Linked DNA regions of Homo sapiens: all the other regions are linked to region 6. The links are contacts of gene promoters, found by promoter capture Hi-C in blood cells and fetal thymus (Javierre and others, 2016). All regions are on one chromosome and are shown on one strand. The core of a region is centred on a gene start or on the middle of the fragment in contact, and the rest is flanking DNA. Distances in the headings are between cores, read along the strand shown.

What was found. Contacts are between HindIII fragments. The CHiCAGO score rates a contact against its expected background, and 5 or more counts as called.
Region 1: a contact is called between a fragment that was not itself captured here and the fragment with the promoter of ZNRF1 in region 6, in 8 of 17 cell types (fetal thymus, megakaryocytes, naive CD8 T cells and 5 more). The highest score is 7.7, in fetal thymus.
Region 2: a fragment that was not itself captured here is called in contact with the fragment with the promoter of ZNRF1 in region 6 in 5 of 17 cell types (M1 macrophages, naive CD8 T cells, fetal thymus and 2 more); the score reaches 9.2 in M1 macrophages.
Region 3: a fragment that was not itself captured here is called in contact with the fragment with the promoter of ZNRF1 in region 6 in 1 of 17 cell types (total B cells); the score reaches 5.1 in total B cells.
Region 4: a fragment that was not itself captured here is called in contact with the fragment with the promoter of ZNRF1 in region 6 in 3 of 17 cell types (neutrophils, M1 macrophages and fetal thymus); the score reaches 8.1 in neutrophils.
Region 5: a contact is called between a fragment that was not itself captured here and the fragment with the promoter of ZNRF1 in region 6, in 1 of 17 cell types (fetal thymus). The highest score is 5.9, in fetal thymus.

The regions. Positions count from the first base shown.
Region 1 is chr16:75,377,701-75,380,400 of GRCh38, reverse strand. The region is part of intron 5 of CFDP1 (craniofacial development protein 1); the gene reads left to right. Among named protein-coding and RNA genes, the nearest start is that of CFDP1, 54 kb to the left of the region's middle. The HindIII fragment of the contact is 3,092 bases long and covers 1-2,700 here.
Region 2 is chr16:75,393,756-75,396,455 of GRCh38, reverse strand. It overlaps CFDP1 (craniofacial development protein 1), which reads left to right. Exons shown (of 7, transcript NM_006324.3): 5 at 1,247-1,366. Among named protein-coding and RNA genes, the nearest start is that of CFDP1, 38 kb to the left of the region's middle. The HindIII fragment of the contact is 193 bases long and covers 1,224-1,416 here.
Region 3 is chr16:75,469,962-75,472,661 of GRCh38, reverse strand. CHST6 (carbohydrate sulfotransferase 6) reads left to right here. Exons shown (of 3, transcript NM_021615.5): 3 at 1-610. Among named protein-coding and RNA genes, the nearest start is that of TMEM170A, 6.6 kb to the right of the region's middle. RefSeq lists an enhancer at 371-1,013. The HindIII fragment of the contact is 1,875 bases long and covers 381-2,255 here.
Region 4 is chr16:75,445,020-75,447,719 of GRCh38, reverse strand. TMEM170A (transmembrane protein 170A) reads left to right here. Exons shown (of 3, transcript NM_145254.3): 3 at 32-2,700. The coding sequence ends at 162. Among named protein-coding and RNA genes, the nearest start is that of CFDP1, 13 kb to the right of the region's middle. The HindIII fragment of the contact is 6,922 bases long and covers 1-2,700 here.
Region 5 is chr16:74,734,574-74,737,273 of GRCh38, reverse strand. All of the region lies in intron 2 of FA2H (fatty acid 2-hydroxylase), which reads left to right. Among named protein-coding and RNA genes, the nearest start is that of MLKL, 35 kb to the right of the region's middle. The HindIII fragment of the contact is 9,725 bases long and covers 1-2,700 here.
Region 6 is chr16:74,997,774-75,000,473 of GRCh38, reverse strand. It overlaps ZNRF1 (zinc and ring finger 1), which reads right to left and starts at 1,450. Exons shown (of 5, transcript NM_032268.5): 1 at 379-1,450. The coding sequence starts at 802. RefSeq lists silencers at 429-738, 1,139-1,658. The HindIII fragment of the contact is 6,289 bases long and covers 1-2,700 here.

The sequences.
Region 1 (2,700 bases), core at 88-2,587, 380 kb before region 6:
GCCGGCTGTAACCACTATTTCAGCTCATGTGCTCTACTGTGGTTTTCAGTTCCTTCTTTGATCCAAATACCCGGAGGTTGCCCATTCTTTCTTATGAGTTTAGCTATACACTTAAAATAATTTTTGGTATATTTTATGTAGCATTTCTAGGTCTTTATCTGGAAAATGTTTAGGTTATCTTAAGTATCCATCTTGCCTAAAATGGAAGTTCATCGGCTTTAAGTGCAGATACCCTATGTAGCTTTTCTTTCTTTTTTTTTTTTCAGATGGAGTTTTGCTGTGTTGCCCAGGCTGGAGTGCAGTGGCACAATCTCAGCTCAGTGCAACCTCCACCTCCTGAGTTCAAGCGATTTTCCTGCCTCAGCTTCCTAAGTAGCTGGGACTACAAATGAGTACCTGCACGCCTGTCTAATTTTTGTATTTTTAGTAGAGACAGGGTTCCACCATGTTGCCCAGGCTGGTCTCAAACTCCTGGGCTCAAGTGATATGCCCATCTCGGCCTCCCAAAGTGCTTAGATTACAGGCATGAGCCACTACGCCCAGCAATCCCTTTACCTTTAAAAAAATAAATAAATAAACCTTTAATTTTAAGAGGTTGTATACTCATGTGTAGTCATATAAACTAGTGCAGAGATTCCTTGTTCCTTTGACCCAGTTTCCCCCTATGGTACCATCTTATAATATTACAACTGGGATATTTACATTGACAGATATAGTCAAGATACAGAACATTTTCATATCTGCTAAGATTCCTCATGTTCTCTATAGCTACATACACTTTCCTCCTGCCCTCACCCCCTCCTTAACCTCTGGTAATCACTAATCTAGAGATTTCCTTTTTGGGAGTTTTTAAATGACAAATTGTTTCCTTAATAGTTACAGGGCTCTTTCATATTGAGTGTCTTGTGGTTTGTCTTTTTTGAGGAATTAGTCTATGTTGCCAAATTTATTTGGGTAGAATTCTGCATAATATTCTCTTATCCTTTTGATACTTGTAGTGATATCCCATTTCATTACCTCCGATATTGGTAATTTGTGCCTTCTCTCTCTCTCTCTTTTTTTTTTGGTCAGTCTTGCTAGACGTTTGTCGATTTTATTGATCTGTTCAAAGAACCAGCTCTGTTTCATTGATCTTTCCCTTTATGTTTTCAATTTCATTTACTTCTATAATTATTTCCTTGCTTCTGCTTGGTTTGCCTATATATTGCTCTTTTTTTTTACTAGATTCTTGAAGTTGGAGCTTAGATTATTGATTTGAGACTTTTCCTCTTTACACTGTATGTATTTCTTACTACACATTTCCCTCACACTGCTTTAGCTATATTCAACAATTTTTGATACATGTATGATTTTATTCCGTTCATTATTTTTTTAATTCCCTTGAGACTTTCTTTTTGACCCATGCATTATTTAGAAGTGTATTGTTCCATTTCCAAGTTTTCAGAGAGTTTTCTGTTGTCTTTCTGTTGTTGCTTTCTAGTTTGATCATGTTGCTGGTGAACACATTCTTTGTGATTTCAACTCTTTTAAATTTGTTGATATTAATTTTATGGGCCAGGATGTGGTCTGTCTTGTATATTCTGTGGACACTTGGAAAGACCAGTATCTTTGTTTTTACCCCAATATCTTTTAAATAAATTCCTTTTTTGTCGGCCAGTCAGTGTCTGTGTCTTGCACTAAACTCTAACTACTACCCCTTTGCAACTGCATTTGTTTAATAGCCTTTATTGTAGCACTAACTATCCCATACTCCCTCATCGTCAGTTTTACACCTTAGTCTCCATCACTACGCTGTGAGCTTGAAGGCGTAGATTTTGTCTTTTTTGTATGTGTCCAGCCTGGTACGTGGCAAATAATTTATAGTATTTGATTAAGGAGTAAATGAATAGCTTTTATTAATGATCACCATTTTTTAAAACTTTGATCTGTGGAAATTTAGTTCTTATCCTTTTAGTTTTGCATATTTTGTCAGTTTTCATCTTAAAAGCAGGGTGGTTTTGGTTTCATAGCTTGTGTTCAGCAAGTAGCTGACCCCAAAAACAGACTGTAAATGTCTGTTATATGATTGGAATGACATTTTATTTCAGCTTAATCATGCCATAGTTCAAGCAGAGACGTGAGATGCTCCTTACTCATTCCACAAGACCTATTTTGCAATTCCTGCTATTTCCTTTATTTCAGGTTGACTTGTCCTCTAGTTGTAGAAGTGTTGTTTCCATAGCAATGCAGCTTACAACGCACATCCCTGTCAGAGTGCACAGAAACCCTGCTGTGTTGCCTGGAAGCCTTGTTTTCCAGTCAGAAAGGAAGCACATGGTATTCCCTCAGCCTTTCCTGCACTTAACTTTGGCTTGCCTTGTGGATAACAAGAAACTCTTGGTTGTTTTCTACCATAGATGCTGGGTTAAAATGTATCTAAGGGATTTTGATGTATAATGTGCCCTGTTACTACAGTGTTCAGGCTGTGGCTGGTGACTGCTAGCGAAGTTGCTGCGTGAAATAGATGTAGGGGACGTTACAGGAATGTGAGCTAAACAGTCTGCCACTCAGCATGAAATTCTATTTATTGCTAAAGCAGTTTGGGGCAACTGCATGTTTGTTGCTTTGGATGATTTTCTTTTGGTTTTTACTGCCTATGAGAACACAATAGAACTGAGTGAACCTCGAGAAGTGGAGAAGCAAACTGTTGGCCTTTCTGAG
Region 2 (2,700 bases), core at 71-2,570, 400 kb before region 6:
GCAATTCTCCTGCCTCAGCCTCCCTAGTAGCTGTGATTACAGGCGCCTGCCACTATGCCTGGCTAATTTTTTGTATTTTTAGTAGAGACAGGGTTTCACCATGTTGGCCAGGCTGGTCTCAAACTCATGACTTCGTGGTCCGCCTGCCTTGGCCTCCCAAAGTGCTGGGATTACAGGCATGGGCCACTGTGCCTGGTCTCCTCAAATTTTTTTTTTTAACTCTTGTTTTTCTCCTTGAAATAGTGCCAACCTAGGCATTATTTCCCAATTCTATAACCTATATTCCCAGTATTCCATCTCCCCATCTCAGCTTTCAAGGCTGAGTGCTAATCTGCATGTGGGGTGCAGTGTGAGGGCCTTTTTCAGCCTTCACATCAGTAAACCAGCATGGAGATTTAGTATTGACTGCTGCAGTGTGTTTCATGCTGAGAAGTCATGGAGGGGAGATGGACTGCATTTAAACAACATTCCTCAGGTGTTTTCGTTAACCTGGAAAGCCTAGGCAGGGATTAAACATTTCTCCTTCTCTCTTTATCTGAATTCTCAGGTACCATAAACACCTTTATTTGAACCTTTAGGACTCAGTTTTAGTGAAGATAATTGTTTCAGATTTGAAATTAGACAAAATTCTCAGTCATGTTGCTTTCGTCCATTCCCAAATTATTGCTAATTTAGCCAGTTTTAGGGGATTTTGTTTCATCTTTGGGTTGTTATAGGGTGATAAAATTTATACACATTGTTGTTTCATTTGTTAATTTTAGTGAGGGAAAATGTTTTTTTATTTTTTTTATTTTTTTGAGACGGTGTCTCGTGCTGTTGCCCAGGCTGGAGTGCAATGGCGTGATCTCGGCTCACTGCAACCTCTGCCTCCCGGGTTCAAGTGATTCTGCTGCCTCAGCCTCCCGAGTAGCTGGGACTACAGGCGCCCGCCACCACGCCCAGCTAATTTTTATATTTTTAATAGAGACGGGATTTCACCATGTTGGCCAGGATAGTTTCGATCTCTTGACCTTGTGATCCGCCTGCCTCGGCCTCCCAAAGTGCTGGGAGTACAGGCGTGAGTCACCACGCCCGGCTGGGCAAATGTCTTTATTGAAAGTTATAGTAAACTTTTATCATAATGCTGAGCGTCCAGAATTTATTGGAAGCCGAGTGGATCTTTTTCTAGTTGTCTTTATTCCCTTTTCTAGCTTGTTTCTTTCTCTTTATTCTTCTTGTAAGCTTGATGTCTTTTTCCTTGGCACAGGGTAACTAAGGAAGTGGATGCTACATCTAAAGAGGCCAAATCCTTCTTCAAGCAGAATGAGAAAGAAAAACCACAGGCTAATGTTCCTTCAGCTCTGCCATCACTCCCTGCCGGGTCAGGGTGAGTATTTGAGTCTCACTCCCTGATGTACTTGGCACGTTGGAGAAGCTTTCAGTGCAAATACCTACTTTCGCTGCAGATCAGACTCCTTGCCTGAGAGAGAGAATTATGATGCTGCTTTGCCTTTGCTGCAATATTTACCAGAATGGAAGATGCAAAGGAAAATTAGCCATAACTTTCTCAGGAGGATTGCTTGAACCCAGGAGTTTGTGACCAGCCTGGGCAATACAGTAAGACCCTGTCTCTTAAAAAAAAAAAAATTAGCTGGGCATGGTGGCTTGCACCTCTGTCCTAGCTACTGTGGAGGCTGAGGCAGGAGGATCCCTTGAGCCCAGAAGGTTGAGGCTGCAGTGAGCCGTGATTGTGCCACTGCACTCCAGCCTGGGTGACAGAGAGATCCTGTCTCTTAAAAAAAAAAAAAAAAAAAAAAAGCGAAGAAAATTAGTTGTAGCTTTCTTATTTGTTGCCAGCCTAAAAGAAGTCCTAGTTTATAGTATTGAACACAAAGCTGAACGTGTAAATTTTACATTTAAAAATAATACTTTTCAAATGAAAATATCAGCCTTCTGCAGAACTTTTCATGAAGATTTGCGATGAACACTCACTCCCATCCTCTGTGATCTTAGAGGAACATAAAAAGATCAAAGATGATTTACAAATAGTTTTCTTAACACATTGTCAGGAACTTAATGGTTTTCCTCCCTTCATATTTTTCATATTACTTGAGTTATTTTTAGCTGAAGGCTAGAATTCTTTCTTTTTGGAAGAAGTAAAAATTCTTTTCTTAACCTAAATGTGAGAAGTAAAGTATTACAGTAAATCAGAGAGGCTTAAGACTGTTGCCACAGGGAAGTGAACATAGACCCATACCATGGATAGCCCTGACTACCCACCTGACTCCTGTGGGGAGTTCTGCATAGTCTCCTACAGTGGCTTCTGTGGCCCTTCAGTCAGATATTGTCCCCTCTTCCTTCCCTCCTGGAGCATACCTGTCATTGCTATGAGCAGTAAAGTTTTGTTTCACATTTTTTTTTTGAGGTGGAGTCTCGCTCTGTCACCCAGGCTGCAGTGCAGTGGCGCAATCTCGGCTCACTGCAAGCTCCGCCTCCCGGGTTCATGTCATTCTTCTGCCTCAGCCTCCTGAGTAGCTGGGACTACAGGTGCCAACACGCCCGTCTAATCTTTTGTATTTTTAGTAGAGACGAGGTTTCACTGTGTTAGCCAGGATGGTCTTGATCTCCTGACCTCGTGATCTGCCCTCCTTGGCTTCCCAAAGTGCTAGGATTACAGGCGTGAGCCACCGGGCCCGGCCCCACTTTTTTTTTTTTTTTTTT
Region 3 (2,700 bases), core at 69-2,568, 470 kb before region 6:
GTGCCTTTGTCACCCACTCCTACAGACTGCGCCCCACCACTGCCACAACTGCCCCATCACCTCTACAGGGTTAAATCAATGGTTTTAATTTTTGCCTACCTGATGGGTGAAAAATGTTACTTGATGTTTCAGTCTGCACTTCTTTAATTCCTGGGGCAGCTGAACATCTTTTCATGCTTATGACTCAACTGTATTCCTTTTTCATTGTTCAAGGCTGTGCCCATGTTGCTGTTGACTTACCACAGCCTCTTTTGAATATGCTTTGTTATTTTTGTTGTGCAAATGGTTTCTCCTAGCTTGTCATCTGTTTTTTGTTGTTGTTGTTTTGTTAACTTACTTTATGGCATTTTCCCCTCAGGCTTCTTAAAAAAAAAGAAGCTTCATTGAGCTATAATTGATATACAACATCTGCACATAAAGTGTAAAGTTTGATTAAACATTTGTATATACCTGTGAAATCAAATCACCACCTCATCACAATCAAATTTCAAAAAGTTTCACCTAGTTTATCATATTGTTGAATGTGAATCCTTTCCTTATGGCCAGTGGATTTTATGTCTTGTTGAAACGACTTTGTCCTGCTACAGTGATAAAAATGGTCTTCACGCTTGCTTCCAGTACTTTAGTAGTCTAGTGTTTTACGCTTGGATCTAAATTGCATGCAATATTCCTGATCGGTGCGAGTCATCAGTTCTCCCAGCGCCCTCTACTGAATGATCTCACTCATCACACACTGAAACCACCATGGGCTGGAATCTGTCCCTCACCCACAGGCCCACTCCACACCAGTGGATCAGGCGAGCAATTTCTTTAGGTCGAGTGACCCCTATGCTGAGGTCCAGTGGGTTATCCCGACTACCTTCACAAGTTAATGGATTTAGATTTAAGCACCACCTGCCCCCAGCAGATTCTCTTACAATTTAAATATCCTCTCACAGTGCAAATCCTTATTCTGTGAATGACTCTATTCAGACCATGTTCCTTAAGAACCAGAGCTAGGCTGGGTGCAGCTGTAATGCTAGCAATTTGGGAGGCCAAGGTGGGCAGATTGCGTGAGCTCAGGAGTTCGAGACCAGCCTGGGCAACTTGGCGAAACCCTGTCCCTACTAAAAAAAATACAAAAACGTAGCCAAGCGTGGTGGTATGTGCCTGAAATTCCAGCTACTTGGGAGGCTGAGGCATGAGAATTGCTTGAACCCAGGAGGTAGAGGTTGCAGTGAGCCAAGATCGCCCCACTGCACTCCAGCCTGGGTAATAGAGCGAGACTCTGTCTCAAACAAACAAAAAACGAAAGAACCAGAGCTAAAGTCTTGATGAAATGGAAAGGATTGGCCTACTATCCATTTTTCCAAGATGGCAATTCATTCCAGCCAATCGAGCATTTTCTCCTTTGGGAGTAAGACCAGAAAACCTGGCCTGTCCTGCAAGTCTTGTGTTATTCTGCTCCCAGTCCTCAAGAACTCCACTCATTCATTCAACACACATTATGGGTTGAGCACCAACCAGGCACTGGGCTATTATAGGAGCTGGAGATACAGCAGGACCAAAAACAGACAAAAAGCAAAAACCCCTGCCCTAGGCTGGGTGCAGTGGTTCACACCTCTAATCTCAGCCCTTAGTGAGGCCGAGGCAGGTGGATCACCTGAGGTCAGGAGTTCAAGACCAGCCTGACCCATATGGTGAAACCCAGTCTCTACTAAAAATATAAAAATTAGCTGGGCATCGTGGCATGCACCTGTAGTCCCAGCTACTCAGGAGGCTGAGGCAGGAGAATTGCTTGAACCCGGGAGGCGGAGGTTGAATTGAGCCGAGATGGCGCCAAAGGACTCCAACCTGGGCGACAGAGCGAGACTCCATCTCAAAAACAAACAAAACAAAACAAAACAAAACAAAAACCAGCCAGGCGCAGTGGCTCACGCCTGTAATCCCAGCACTTTGGGAGGCCGAGGCAGGCAGATCATGAGGTCAGGAGTTCGAGACCAGCCTGGCCAACATGGTGAAACCCCATCTCTACTAAAAATACAAAAATTAGCCAGGCGTGGTGGTGGTGGTGCACGCTTGTAATCCCAGCTAATCAGGAGGCTGAGGCAGGAGAATCGCTTAAACCTGGGAGGCGGAGGTTGCAGTGAGCTGAGATCGCGCCACTGCACTCCAGCCTGGGCGATAGAGTGTGACTCTCTCAAACAACAACAACAACAACCCTGCCCTTCAGGAACTTGCATTCTGATGGTGGGGAGATAGCTGATGAATAAGCTTAATAAATGGCTACATTATTTAGCATATTAGAAAGTGCCAAGGATTAAAGTAGAGAAGGATCGGGGGATGAGGAATATATGTGTGTAGAGGTGTGAGTTGTAATTTTTAATGGGGTGATCAGGGTAGGTCTCAGTGAGAAAGCGACATTTGAGGAAAGTCTTACAGGAGGTGAGGGAGTATGTTAAGGGCAATCATGGGTAGCCTGTCTGGGAGCAGGAAAGAGCTAACACAAAAGCCCTAAGGAGGGGAGGCATCTGGCTTGTTGAAAGAGCAGCAAGGGGCCAGGGGGTCTGGTGTGCTGGACCGCCTCCTTGGCTTCCTTAGACAGGGCCCAGGAAACCTCCATTTTCTGAGTCCTGCAAGGCTAAATGTCTTTTTTTAACCTGTCAATTCATAAATGAACTAAAGATCGAATTCTAAATTCAAAATAATGTTTCCTAATGT
Region 4 (2,700 bases), core at 99-2,598, 450 kb before region 6:
TTTTGTTTAACATTCTTGCATTTTAAATCAGGTGCAGCTATTGCTGGAGTTTACCGAGCAGCAGGGAAGGAAATGATACCATTTGAAGCCCTCACACTGGGCACTGGACAGACATTTTGCGTCTTGGTGGTCTCCTTTTTACGGATTTTAGCTACTCTATAGCATACATCCTTATGCTGAGATGTTGAACTTAAACTTTATGGAATCCTCCAAAAGAATACATTATGGAGTGTAGTGTTTTCTTAGTTCTTCAAAGGGAAGCAACTTGGATGAACAGGAACATGAAGGACAACACATCTCAGCCTTTTCTTCATTTTGAAGCTCCTAGAATTGAAGACTTATGTGGACTCCTATTGTTCTCAACCAAAACAAGTCTTTTGGCTTTCTTTTTTGTAGATATTTGATTTAAGCAGTTTTCATGTGTACCTTTACCCAAGCCAAGTCAACAGTGTCTCTGGGGTGGCATCCTTTGCACTGAAATTTACAGTATTCTGTGAGATGTCGCATATTTTGAAGAAACCGTGGAAGATACTGGTTTATTTCAAATGAGCAGAGTATGTTGTATTAAAATCTTATCTAATCTTGATTAAAATTTGGCAAACTCTTTTCTTTGCTACATCTTAGTGACAATAAATGCCAAATAGGTTTTGGTTGAGTATAGTTTTGAAAACAAATTTGGTGAAATAAAGCAGGAAAAAAAATTTAAGTATAACTCAAGTAGTGGCTTTGGTTCCACTGTTTATAAATAAAAAGTAGATAACAATGAATAATGTGACATTTTCTGGACAACTGTCTTGACTTCTGATTAAGATATTTTAAGAGATGTGAATTTGTTATTTTGTATGTTTTATCAAAATAAGCTAGCTAATTTAGACTTTTTAGATTTTCTGTACCACCTTTCCCTATCACTTTTAATTCTCTTAATTTTATTTCATTTAATTGGAAACATACATACCCTATTAAATGGCTTGAGTTGGAAATTTTAAGCCAGATTTGTTTGGACATTGAGGCACACATAAGATACTTTAGGCATTCTGTCATAGTTTTTCTTAGTGACTTTGGTATACTAATGACCCTTGAGAAACTATAGAAGTGCATCTGAAACTAGAGTTAGTGGTTATTGATTTTTTAGCTTAATGTGTTTACCTAGTGGTAACTCTTCAGCCCACTTTTACAGTATTGGGTATCAACTCCCAGAAAGTGCCTAAAGTTTAATGTTCAGATATGTACCCACTCTCCCCTTTACATTTTTATTCAAAAGAATTTATATCTTTAAAGAGATTTAAATATCAAGAGTTTTTTTAAAACTTAATTTTAGCTATTTAAATTTTTATTCTACTGCCTAACTTTCTTTTTCATTAAAAGGCCTGAAAACTGTGACTCTTTGAGAGGGAAAGAATCGCAGAAATTAAGTATTTAATGTGATCCTTTCCACCTAAACTGTTTTGTATGGAATACAATCAGTGTGGTGGTAGTGGTGGTGGTTATCTGCAAAATAGTTTCTGGTGATTAAATCTGACTTTTTTTTTTTTTTTTCTTTTAAATGAGACGGAGCCTCACTGTGTTGCCCAGGCTGGAGTGCAGTGGTGCAATCTCAGCTCACTCCAACCTCTGCCACCCGGGTTCAAGCGATTCTCCTGCCTCAGTTTCCTGAGTAGCTGGGATTACAGGCACCTGCCACCGTGCCCGGCTAATTTTTGTATTTTTAGTAGAGATAGGTTTCACCATCTTGCCCAGGCTGGTCTTGAACTCCTGACCTTGTGATCCACCCGCCTCGGCCTCCCAAAGTGCTGGGATTACAGGCGTGAGCCACCGCGCCTGGCCATAAATCTGACATCTTTAAAGGAAAGTTTTCATTGTGAGATTAAGGCTTAACAGCCCATGAGGTCATATACACATGAACGTATCTATTCCATTTAAAGCAATACACACTCTGGCTTCTGATTAAAAATAGCCAGGAGGAGAGTCTCTGAATCTACTGTGATTCTGGAGTCTGCCCAATTTGGAAAAAAAAAAAAAAGAAAAAAGTCAGGAGGACCAATTTGCCAGGGAAACTCATAGAAAAGAATTACAAAGAGATCACAAAAACTGGACATATTCTTTTGACTAATTAGACCACTTATGGCTGGGCGCAGTGGCTCACACCTATAATCCCAGCACTTTGGGAGGTCGATGTGGGAGGATTGCTTGAGCCCAAGAGTTCAAGACTGGCCTGGGCAACATAGTGAGACCTTGTCTCTACTACAAAATAAAAAAAAATTAGCTGGGCGTGGCCTCAGCTACCCAAGAGGCTAAAGTGGGAGGATCACTTGTGCCTGGGAGGTTCAGGCTGCTGTGAGCCGAGACCACGCCACTGAACTCCAGCTTAGGCCACAGGGCAAGACCCTGTCTTAAAATAATATTACTAATTTTGGTAATTAACTTATCAAAACTATAGTGACATATACACGGGCAGAAACTTATAAGTAGAGTTGTAATGCAGCCAAATATTCTTACAAATTCCCTAACAAGAAGCTCAAATCTTTCTCACAGGCAAATTGTAAAAATTCTAGTTTTTTGTTTAAAGAGCTGTGATTTTCAAAAGTATCCCTTCAGTTTAAGAAATCTGGGGAATTGGTAACTTTTCTTATGGGAAATGATTGCCATCATCTCTACTGAAGGATGCCTCTTACTGAAAAATGTCTTTTGAAGGAGTTCTTG
Region 5 (2,700 bases), core at 143-2,642, 260 kb after region 6:
AGCTGCCCACCACTCTCAGCTCCTGGACACACGTGTCCCCCTGGTCCAGCAGCCTCTTTTTGCCACTTCGCCATGTCCTTTTCGGAGCCCTCCCTTGGGAGCCCTCTCCACCCTTTCCACCCGGGGGACCAGCCTCCCTTTGGGGAGGGGGCAAGAACAGGTGTGATTTGAGGGGTTTGCAGAAGTTCGCTGCCCAGATGCTCAGCAGCGGAGTTAGCCCTGAATTCACATCTCTTGTACTGAGCCCTCACTGTGTGCCAGCCGCTTTCAATGTATTATTGGTTATCTGCTTTAATCCTGCTGACAGCACGAGGGATAAGGATTATAATTATCCTGATTTAACTGATAAGGAAGAGCTTAAATCTCCCGCCCAAAGTCACCTCTGGGCACACTAGCAGCCCAGATAGCGGCCCCTCCCCTCCACAAGGTCCTGGAACCTTCCCACCCCAACAGCTGACCATGAATAAGACCCTGAGGCCGGTGAGTAGGAGAGGGAGTGGCAGAGGGAGGGAGGAGGCTGAGCAGATACCAGCAGTGTCTCCCAAGCCAGCCACATCCTCTTCCCCATCCTTCCTCAGGCTAAGCCAGATGCTGGCATAACCAGCTGCTGGGGCTGGCCAATGGGTGTGATCAGCCTCTTCCCTCAAGGGACAGATAGACGCATCCAGCAGGCATCCCCAAACTCCCTGTCCCTGCCCCCTGCCTGACATAACACAGACCACCAGGGTCCCCAGGGCCTGGAAAGGCTATTGAAGTTGGCCATAGTGTTTTGCCCATTTAGGACCCCCAGATCAGTCACTGAGAACTCAGGAAGATAGCATCCAGATCAGAGAAAGGGCCCTTTTGGCCAACACACTCTCGGGGGGACCAGCCTTGGCACTGTGGGCACTGGCCTGGCTCTCCTCTAGGCACCCTGCCTGCCTAGTCGCCTTGGGTCCCCTTGGGCCTCCTTTCTCTCTATAATCCCTCCCAGCCAGAGTAGGGGTCTGGAGGGCCCAACATCCAAAGGGCCTCCCCAAGGCTGTCCATACTGGGCTTAGAGTCCCTGAGTCTCCTCTCTGCCTGCCTCCTTGCTCAGAGCTCCTGGCCCCTCTTCAGAGGAGCTCAGCGGTGCTCAAAAAATACCCCAAGGCAGAAAGCAGGCAGGTGGGCTGGGCACTGCCCTCTGCTTCCGTGGGTCTTAGAGGACACCCTGGGAGGGCAGTGGACAGGGCAGGCTGGGAGGCAAGAGATGCCACAGTGTTCCAGTATGATGCAGAAAGCTATTCCCTCTATCTTTTTTATTTTTTTAGAGACAGGTTCTCACTCTGTTACCCAGGCTGGAGTACAGTGGCAAGATTGCAGCTCACTGCAGCCTCAACCTCCCAGGCTTGAGCCATCCTCCCACCTCAGCTTCCTAATTAGCTGGGACTACAGGTGCATACCACCATGCCTGGCTAATTTTCTTAAATTTTTTTGTAGAGATAGGGTCTTGCTATGTTGTCCAGGCTGGTCTCAAACTCCCAGCCTCAGTGATCCTCCCACCTTGGCCTCCCAAGGTGCTGGGATTGCAACCCTGCATCTTATTATTGCGTAGGATTATCTGGAGGATCTAGTGGAATGTACTAAAGGATATCAGAAAGTGTGCTGCAAGGGAAAGACCACCCTACCTGGTTTTGGGGTGGGGCCCCTGGGCAGGCTCCCTTCGCTCGTCTTCAGCCCTAAGGGCAGAGGTCATGCCTGCTTTCTGCCAGCGCTCAAGCTGTCTTTCATCTCTCCCTGTGTCTCTGGCATTTTTGCTCCCTATCCACTCTCCGCTGCCTGAATCCTCGTGGGGTGAGCCTGAGGCCACCTCCCTGTCCTCACATCCCCTGGGTGACGGGAGGGTCATAGGGCTCAGGGGGAGGAGGCAGGTGATCCGGAACCACCTCTGTGGACTTCAGCTTGTCCCAGTTAGACCGCGCAGGACGGGCCTGCAGCCACTCCGGCAACGCCACCAAGAGCCCCACCTCACTGCCCCCACTGACCGCTGCTGGCTGTGAGGAATCACAGCCGTTGTGCTGAGGAAGTCACAGCCATGGGATCCCAATCTGGCTGACAGGAGGCCTCCTGGCCGAGCCTGGGCTGTGAGTGGGGCACTCGAGTCCAGGCCCTGCCACAGCATATGCAGCCGAACATCTGACCCTGTCTTCTCATCTGTCAAAAGAGGTCATCATCGGCCCCAACTCCCAGAATTAAGGCTCATGAAGGATAGGGGATGTGAGGCCTGAGCCCCAGCTGACCAGCGACCAGGTTGCAGACAACCGGCCCCCACTCCTCTCCCGCAGCCCCGGCTGCCTGGAAGCCTGTCTCCACCTCTGCTCAGAAAGCTGCCCTGGGGCAATATGCCTGAGTTTGGGTGGACATTTCTTTAAACAATTGCCTTAGCTCATCGCTGTGGGGGTGAGCAGTGCTGCTGACACTGAGCAGCTACCCTGCCCCCGCCGCCTGCCCCCGCTCACCACATTTGCCACCTTAGGGAGAAGCAGATTCTGGGCACACCCTTCCCCAGGAAAGCGTCCTATGCCACCTGGCCCTGTGCTGCCCAGGAGGAGGGGTCCTGGGGAGGGGGAGGAGGAAAACAGGGAAGGCCCCCTTCTACCGGGGCACCATGCCCTTCCGCCCACCCTCTGGGCAGCAGGCTGCCCTTTCCCCCTGCCGTGCTGCTGTGGGCCACATTCC
Region 6 (2,700 bases), core at 201-2,700:
TCTCTCCGTTACCGGTGAGGCAGGCACAGTGCTGCAGTGGCAGAATGGAAGTACCCAGGCTGACTTGCTCTCAGCCAGACACGACCTCTTCTCTGAGGAGGGTGATGCCAATAAATGGAACTCCAATAGGTAGGCTTCGCTCTGCCCTTCCACAAGTGAACACACGCCGTGAGTCCCTAAATCGCCAGGCTCCGCAGCCTCGCAGAAAGCCTAGTTTCCAGACGGTAGGTATCCCATTTATCCCTTGGCATCGGGAACCAAAGGGAATGCAGACAGATCCCGGTCGTGCACTACATTCCCAAACCTTGGCACGCACGCGAAGGCTTGGGGCGCCCCGGCGCGCCCTCCCTCCGAGGCCTCCACCACCCGCGGACTCACCACTATGCGAGCTGAACCACCTGGGTGCGATGTGCAGAGGTAGAGCATCCGCCAGCGAGGCTCGGGAGCCCAGGTACAGCATCCCGTCTCTATGGTGACCGCCGCCCGTCTCCTGGTAACCATTGCCATGGGCATAGGTGGAGTCGGACGCAGACCCTCCGCCGCCGGGCGCCCTCTCGGAGTCGCCGGTGCCCCGGGAGGCGGGGGTGTAGAGGCCAAAGGGCACCCCCCCGGCCGTGCTGGGGTCCATGCCCATGCCTGCCACCGAGCTGACCGAGCGGCTGCGCAGCCCCATGGCCCCGCCGCCCGTCCGGTAGTGCCCGAAATGGGGCGCCCCTCCCGGCGGCGGCACGGCGCTGTCATCGGTGGAGACCCCCGGGAAGGGGCCCCGGGAGCGGGCCGCCGTGCTCTGCTTGCCCCCCATGCTCGCCCGGGCCCCGGTGGGGCGGGAACCTGGAGGCCGAGACCCTCCCCCACTTCTCAGCAGCAGGGGGAGGGCTGGGCGAGCATAAAGGGGGAGGGAGTCAAAAAGGAGACCCGGAGGGAGAAAAGGAAAAAAAGCAAAAGGAAAAAAGGAAAAAACCCGCGGGGCGGAAGAGGCAGGCGGGCGGGCGGGGATCCCAAACTCAGAATTTCAAACGATCCAAGGCAAACGCATGTTTCCCCTCAAGGTCCAAAGAGGCGCAGTCCGGCGCGGGCTCCGCGCGCCACAGGCCGCCCCCGGGCTCCGAAAGCCGGGGGAGCCGCAGGGAAGGAGGGAGGGAGGCGGCGGCGAGCGGCGGGCGGGCGCGGGGAGGCGCCGGAGGAGGCCGCCCGCCCCGCGGGAGGAGGCGGAGGAGGGCCGGGGGCGCCGGGCGCGTCCCCCGCCTCAGGACGCCGCGACCATGGACGGCGGCCCGGACCCCTCCAGGCCTCGGGCGGGCCGCGGCGCTGGGCGGCCAGGCGCAGCTCGGGAAGCCGCGGTCGCGTCGCGTCGCGCTCTCGCTTCAGCCGCCGCCGGCCCCGCCAGCCGCGCCGCCCCGCTCGGTCCCGGGCTGCGCTCGCCGGCGCTCCTCGCCGCCGTGGAGACAATGGAGGGCGGCAGAGCGCAGGCGCGGCCCGCGCCCCCTCCCCCTCCCCCCGCCGGGTTAACCCTTTCGCGGTCCCTGCGGCGCCTGGGCCGCTGACGCCCCAGCAGTCCCCACCCACCGCCCGCCCCCGGCCGGCCTGTGACCTGGGCGGCCTGACCACTGGGCGTTAGCCACAGAAACCAGATGTCTTTCAAAAGCAAACACTTCTTAAGTCCCCGAAAGTGGCAAATTATTCAGGGGGAACCAAGTATGGGGGAGGGGCAGCAATGGTTCGAGGGGGTGGGAAGGAAACACCGGGAAGAAGGAGATTTACTCCTTACGCCTACCTGGCTCTGAGGGTCACCGGTCGAGCTCCCCTCCTGGCACAAATTTGCCCCCACAGCACCCTCTGGTGGACGTGATGTCCATTCTTTCGGGGGTTCCCCATCCAAGCACCCCTCACGTCCGGAATCTCAACATTTGGCGGGGTTTAGTTATTTGGGGGTAAACAGCGCCATGGGGACACTTGTGAATCCGGCGTTTTGCTGACACTAGATCATAACTTCCTATTTTGGGCTTAAGCAAATGAGTAGATTCCTTAGCTAAAATGTAATTTTCAGAATCAATAGATGTACCATAAAAAGTGAATAGATATGGGTATGGAAATAGAACAACGCAGCTAGAAGTGATTATAGAAACCTTCTGTCCAAGGCTGGAGCCCTGTTTTGTTTACCATGTGCTGTGTTTCGGCCCTCACCACGGGCCAAGGACACGGTGGGTACTCAATAGGTGTATTGTTGACCAAGCCTGAATCATTTGCAAGGGAGTGTTCCTTTGCTACCTCAAGCCGTCTTTCTCCTATATTCACATTCATTTATTGAACAACTGTTTTTTTTGTTTTGTTTTGTTTTTGTTTTTGAGACGTAATCTCGCCCTGTCACCCAGGCTGGAGTGGTGTGGCGTAACCTCGGCTCACCGCAACCTCCGCCTCCCGGATTCAAGTGATTCTCCTGCCTCAGCCTCCCGAGTAGCTGGGATTACAGGCACATGCCACACTGCACCTGGCTAATTTTTTGTATTTTTAGTAGAGGCGGGGTTTCACCGTATTGGCCAGGCTGGTCTTGAACTCCTGACCTCAGGTAATCCACCTGCCTTGGCCTCCCAAAGTGTTAGGATTACAGGCATGAGCCACCGCGCCCGCCCTGTTTTTCTTTTTCTTTTTTTTCTTTTCTTTTTTTTTTTTTTTGAGACGGAGCCTTGCTCCTCCCAGGCT